2 separate regions of the Homo sapiens genome follow, and region 2 is linked to region 1. Evidence: promoter capture Hi-C in 16 types of primary human blood cells and fetal thymus (Javierre and others, 2016). All regions are on one chromosome and are shown on one strand. Each heading gives the region's core, a stretch centred on a gene start or on the middle of the fragment in contact. The rest is flanking DNA. Distances are from core to core; before and after follow the strand shown.

What was found. Contacts are between HindIII fragments. The CHiCAGO score rates a contact against its expected background, and 5 or more counts as called.
Region 2: a contact is called between a fragment that was not itself captured here and the fragment with the promoter of DOCK4-AS1 in region 1, in 1 of 17 cell types (M1 macrophages). The highest score is 5.4, in M1 macrophages.

What each region holds. Positions count from the first base shown.
Region 1 is chr7:111,807,022-111,810,097 of GRCh38, forward strand. DOCK4-AS1 (DOCK4 antisense RNA 1) reads left to right here and starts at 1,484. Exons shown (of 2, transcript NR_103806.1): 1 at 1,484-1,592. It overlaps DOCK4 (dedicator of cytokinesis 4), which reads right to left. Exons shown (of 53, transcript NM_001363540.2): 29 at 2,280-2,380; 30 at 1,800-1,858. The HindIII fragment of the contact is 9,376 bases long and covers 1-3,076 here.
Region 2 is chr7:112,337,027-112,340,102 of GRCh38, forward strand. It overlaps ZNF277 (zinc finger protein 277), which reads left to right. Exons shown (of 12, transcript NM_021994.3): 9 at 704-800; 10 at 2,817-2,859. The region is part of intron 2 of ZNF277-AS1 (ZNF277 antisense RNA 1); the gene reads right to left. Among named protein-coding and RNA genes, the nearest start is that of ZNF277-AS1, 12 kb to the right of the region's middle. The HindIII fragment of the contact is 733 bases long and covers 1,310-2,042 here.

The DNA of each region.
Region 1 (3,076 bases), core at 234-2,733:
CAAGGGTCATGGGCCTAAATGCATAGCTATTATGGTTTGGATACAGGTTTATGTGGAAATAACCATAGATGGCAATGCTGAGATGTATCTAGAACAGAAACTGGTCATTCTTTTTTAACATTCTTGTAACCGAACAGAATCTGTCCTGCTCTCATAATTTGAGCCCAGAAAAGAGCTTACACAACCACAAGTGCATTCAAACAGATTCAATGCAGCATTCTTTCAAAAACATCTTGCTAAATTAATGTCGAATGCAATATGGACACTACAAGGGCCTTGATCTTCTTTAGGAAAAACAAGGACACAAAGAATCAATGAAACCTGAAAACACTGAAGACTAAGAAGAGCAGTCTCCAAATAAGAAAACTATTTTTGAGCTGCAACTAAAGACAGACCATGATATCTTCTGGCTGGCCTTACATAGTTGAAGGTTGTTTTCAAGATGATAACTCTTTTTTTTTTTTTTTTGAGTCAGAGTCTCACTCTGTCACCCAGGCTGATGGAGTGCAATGGAGCGATCTTGGTTCACTGCAACCTCCACCTCCCAGGTTCAAGTGATTCTCCTGCCTCAGCCTCCCAAGTAGCTGAGATTACAGGCACCCCCCCACCACGCCTGGCTAATTTTTGTATTTTTAGTAAAGACAGGGTTTCACCATGTTGGCCAGGCTAGTCTCAAACTCCTGACCTCAAGTGATCTGCCCGCTCCAGGCTCCCAAAGTGCTGGGATTACAGGCATGAGCCATTGCTCCCAGCTTCATTATTTTTTTTTATTTTTTATTTTTTCTGAAATCACCAGCAAGCATTGAACACTGGGCTTAATTATATATACCAAGGCTCCCTCAAGTTGTTATGTATATTTGAGGAATATACATACCCTATTAAAAAAAAATCACCCTGTAATGATCCTGGTCAAAAATCAGTCTGTTAACATGAGTGGAAGTAAAACAATAATGGTTCTATTTTCATTCACAGAAAATAAATCCTTCCAATCTCCAAGTTGTACTTGGATAAGCCCAAGAGAAAAGATATTTTCAGGTCATTACGTATTCAACTCAAATAGGTCAATCATTTTAATAAATCAAAGAGGAGCATTAAGATGCAGTAATAGTAAATGAATACTAAAAACCTGCATAGTTAACATACCAAATGAAATAACTTATAAATCTCTAGAAAGGGACCCTATGCCAATGAATTTTAAAACAATTTGTTTTCCAAATATTACTGTTTTCTATGCAACCAGATCTGTACCATCAATTTTCTGGAATAATATACTCTATCTGCTATAGCAGATTAACAAAATTGGATCCAACAGTTTCTTAGCAACTGCAGATGCTTTTAAAATCCTTTGGCTATACTCTTTATGATATAGGACAATGGTCTCAAGTTTTTAAGAGTAGTGACGTTCAAGTCAATGTTTCATGAAGTTTAACCTAAATTTATTATGATTCATAGCTTCAACTCAGAGTTCTAGAAATTTTGAGTTGTTACAGTTCCAAATTCTGAAAGGTTGCCTCATCGCTGGAAATATGTGTAATGTTGGAGCAATGCTAGATTATAAAATTTATCGTTAATTAATAATGAAACACACAAAGGTAAGGTGACTTTTCTTAGAGACCAATTTAAAGAATTTGTTGTAACCTCATTCAATGCCAAAGTGTCAATTACTTTCTATAGATGTTTATTGATTTAGACATTTGGTTTCACATGGTGTCACTGGTAAATTGCCTTTCTTCATTTGTACACTTCAAGGTACAGCGAGGAGCTGTATAGTAGATGTGGCTTCTCTTTTCCTCACTTACCTAGGTTTTGCCACATGCTGAAAATTTCACAACCCATTGTTACCCGCATGTCACCATACCTGAAATAGAACAAAAAACCAAACCTGATACAATGCCTCCAGAACAAGGAAGTATTTGTGTGTCTTTAGGATACAATCTATCATTCTGAATTACAAGGCAAGGAGTTTTTAATTAAAGACATTTAATATACATGTCACGATGCCTCTAAGTCAAATTCTGGTGTAAACCTTTTAGTAAAAGAGATCTGTTTCATAATTTTTTGCATCTATAGAAATTTTGAATCCTGAAAGAGCCAGGTCAAAACAATGTGCAAACATGTTTGAAATATCAAAACATCCAGAAAAGACTGCTTCTTGACCCCTTGGTCACTGGTTCTTCACTGTGTGATTTCCAGTTATGCGCATTCTGATTTATGAATCATTTGAACTAAATACTCTTTAAGAGGCAACATTTCTCACCTGATTATACACTGATACTTACTTTTCTAACACCTTTTTCTTCTTGGAAGGTGTGAACATCTCCAACTGCAGACACAACTGGTTTATAAAAATGACTGCGAGGTAAAAGTAGGAATCCCAGATCTAAAACAAGAACAAGATATATCAATACTATGGTGTTACAAGCATATTGACAGGTGAAGTGACATAGTATTTTGGATTTGCTTCAAAAGTGGTTGAGGGTATAGTTGAAGTAAGACTGACCATGAGTTGATAATAGTTGAAGCTGGATATGGGTACCTCATGGGGGTTCATTATACTATTCTCTCTACTTGTACATATGCTTAAAATTTTCTAAAGTGAAGAAGTAACTAAATAAATAAGTACTATTATTATCTAGGTGTATATTGCTCCAAAGCTGTATTCCAGGTTTCACGAGCTTTTTGGTATATGCTAAAAGACAGATGCGTGGTTTCTCTTGTAATATGTCTGAGTATCTCCAAGAGGATGAGGTATAAGATGGATTTCTTTATTCCTGTGTGAGTTCATTTTTGGAACTCCTTTTAACGTAGAACTTGTAAAAAATGCATACACTTCTTCAGATATGCTAATTGCTTTAAATTCAGACATTATATAAAAATTCCCTGCCCAGGCAAATCTTTTAAGTTTTCTTATACCAAAAAACAGAATCAGAAAGAGATCTGAATAAAGTTCCCTGAAATAAACTTAGCAAAAAAAAAAAAGGACATAATGGAAGGAACACACTTCTCCACTGACACCATGTAAAATTAAAGACATAACAAACCAGGAGACATATGACACAGAATCAGTATCTGTTAT
Region 2 (3,076 bases), core at 426-2,925, 530 kb after region 1:
TCAGTGATCATTTCTGAGCTTGCCATGAAAAATTCTCTCATCTGAATTTGAATGGGTGTTCCTTGTCTCCACAACTCTTCCCTCCTGGCAGTTTTCCTGGTTTGGGAATGATAAGAAGTTGGTAGTATTTCAAAAAGGGAAATGCCAAGGAGCGGGGAAAGTGGTAAAAGGGATCCTGTATCCTTTTTGAGTTCCCTGTCTACCGCCAGATTTAACACTTGCCCAGTTTAAAATAATCAGTATTTCCCTCGTGAAAGAGACACGGTTTGCCTTTGTAAAATACACTATTTGTCATGCAGAAACACATTCCCGGCATCACACCTCACAGCGTGTGCACTCAGTGGTTGTGGTTAATGGGAGAGAGCATCACATTTTCTGATATGTCTCCTTTGCAAATTAAACCTCATTGTCTCAGGACGACATTCCTCTGACTGTAGACTGAGATAGCTACTCAGAAGAACGGCAAATAGGAGAAAATGGAACAGCACCTGTTCACTATGTATATTAATTTCATGGTGCTGCTTTGAATTTCAAAAGCTATATCAGAGAGTCATAATATGATGTGACAGTCTTTACCAAAATGTCAGAGTTGAAAGAGATTGGCAGGGTTTTTTAGTAAGGAGAAAGCAATACCAAGTCACTGTGTAGTATACTCTCTTAATGAAGGGAATCTCCGTATTTTCTCTCCTCTTTTTTAATTCAGTGACTGGTCTGATTGGGAAGAACACCCTGCCTCTGCAGTCTGCTTATTTTGTGAAAAGCAAGCAGAAACAATTGAGAAGTTGTATGTCCACATGGAGGTAAGATACCTGTATTTATTTGAATTTTGTTTTATTCTGACAGGGGAAAGCTAGTAATTGTTGCACCCTCATCTGCTTTTACTTCAGTTTCCCAATCATTATTCCAACCAGAAGAGACAGGCCAGGTCTGTCAGGGAGAACCAGAGCTCAGGGCAATTTAGTTAGTACAGTTGACTGGACCCGAGTGAGCTGTTTGTTAGTGTGAGATTTCTCAGACCACTGATGCCATCTCACCTTTGAGATGCTTACAAGATCATTCTAGCTCAGCAGGTGGGACAGGTTCTGAGTCTTTTTTCCAGTGCTTCTTGTGCTGGTGAATAGGAGAGCAAGAAGGGAGAACATTGCCATTTACAAAGGTCCCGGAGGAATAGGGAAAAAGGAGGGTGGGTAGAGAGGAGCTAGGGCATGATCCTACAGTTCCTTCAGGTGCCAGGATTTAGAGAGAAGAAACTAGGGAGCATTCCTAGTGTGGGCTTTCCCTTCTGGATGCCATTTTTATGTTATAGTGAAGCTTGGAGCTAGCAGTTCTAAACCTTTTTCACCCCAGTATACCTGAGAGAGGACACACACCCTGCACCTCTGATCCTTAGCTGCACAAGGCGGATAGGGAAGGGGAACATGTAATGATTCATGATAGTATCACAGCTTGTGGGCAGAGGGGTGATTATAATAGAAAAATATTACTGGATGATTCTGATATCTCTCCGTCCCCTCCCTGCAGCCACCTCTGCCAATAGTGGACCATATTCTCTACTTTCACCCACTTTCACCTCACCCTTATTCAGAAATACTGTTCTTAGTTTAGTAAAATAAGGGCCTAGAAAGCGCTCAAAAGACCATAAACATTTTCCTTGATTTTAGTTTCTCTGAAAAAGGTTCCCACTAGTATGTGTGTATAATTTCCTGTGTTTAGATTTAATTCATAATATCTTAATGTCTTTGTATTGAAGGCAGCCTTAGTATGCCTATCCTGTGTAAGGATTACCTTTTCGGCATCCTTGACAGGTGTCCTTAACCTCTGCTGGGTCACTTTCAGTGATAACATCACGAATTCCTAATCATCCTTCATATGGTGCTACACTAAATGCCATCCCAGTGAGTTAAATGGTCTTTATCATCTGTGAGATTGTAGGTTAAAACATTTACACAGACAATTGCAGGTGTCAAACAAACACGCAAAAAATAAGTGCATTGTAAAAATCAAAAGAAAGCGTGATTTATAGGAAGGTGTGAGTGAAGAGAAGCTTTGAGGTTTAAACAGTGTATTTGACAGCATAAAATGAAAAGCAGAATTTGTAAAAATTACCTATGTGGGGCAAAGAACCTATATCCATAATTCTAGTCCAAATGCACAGTACAATAGAAACATATCTTACCTACACTTTTATCACACTGCAGAATGCATACATAGACTTCTACATTTTTAGAAGGCTACAAAATGGATAACATTGTAAATTATAAAAACTATAGATATAAGCTATGAGCAATTATAATGTTGTTGCTGTTCTTTGATATGGAGTCTCGCTGTGTCACCCAGGCTGGAGTGCAGTGTCACGATCTCAGCTCACTGCAACCTCTGCCTGCTAGGTTCAAGCGATTCTCGTGCCTCAGCCTTCTGAGTAGCTGGGATTACAGGCACCCACCACCACACCCAGCCAATTTTTGTATTTTTAGTAGAGACGGGGTTTTGCCATGTTGGCCAGGCTGGTCTCAAACTCCTGACCTCGGGTGATCCGCCCACCTCGGTCTCCCAAAGTGCTGGGATTATAGGCGTGAGCCACCGCGCCCGGCCCAATTATAATGGTTTAACTGATTGACATGACTTGTTTGGACTATGCTGTAAAAAAGTTGGGTATGGAGGGAAGTAGTTAGACTTGGAAGACTTCAAAAGCAGAAGATACCGAACTCAGACTGAGTTTCTAAACTACTCAAACTCCTGTGAATAAGTTGTTTATAACTTCAGCCTGAAAGATTAAATAATTCATATGCTTACAGATGTATTCATTCCTTTTTTAGGATGCACACGAATTTGATCTTCTCAAAATAAAGTCAGAACTTGGTAAGTTTGATTCAGAGGTTTTTTTCTGTGATGCTTCATTTTTTATAAACCATCCTGTAAGCTATGCCTATGTTCAGTAGCTATGATTGGAGAGTGCACCACCAAAACATGTCTCTCTATAGATGGTCTTGACAGAACTCTCTGTGAAGCAGTGATGCTCAACCATAATAGTCAAATATGGTTTTTGGTTTCATATACTCCTTCTTTCTCTTTCCTA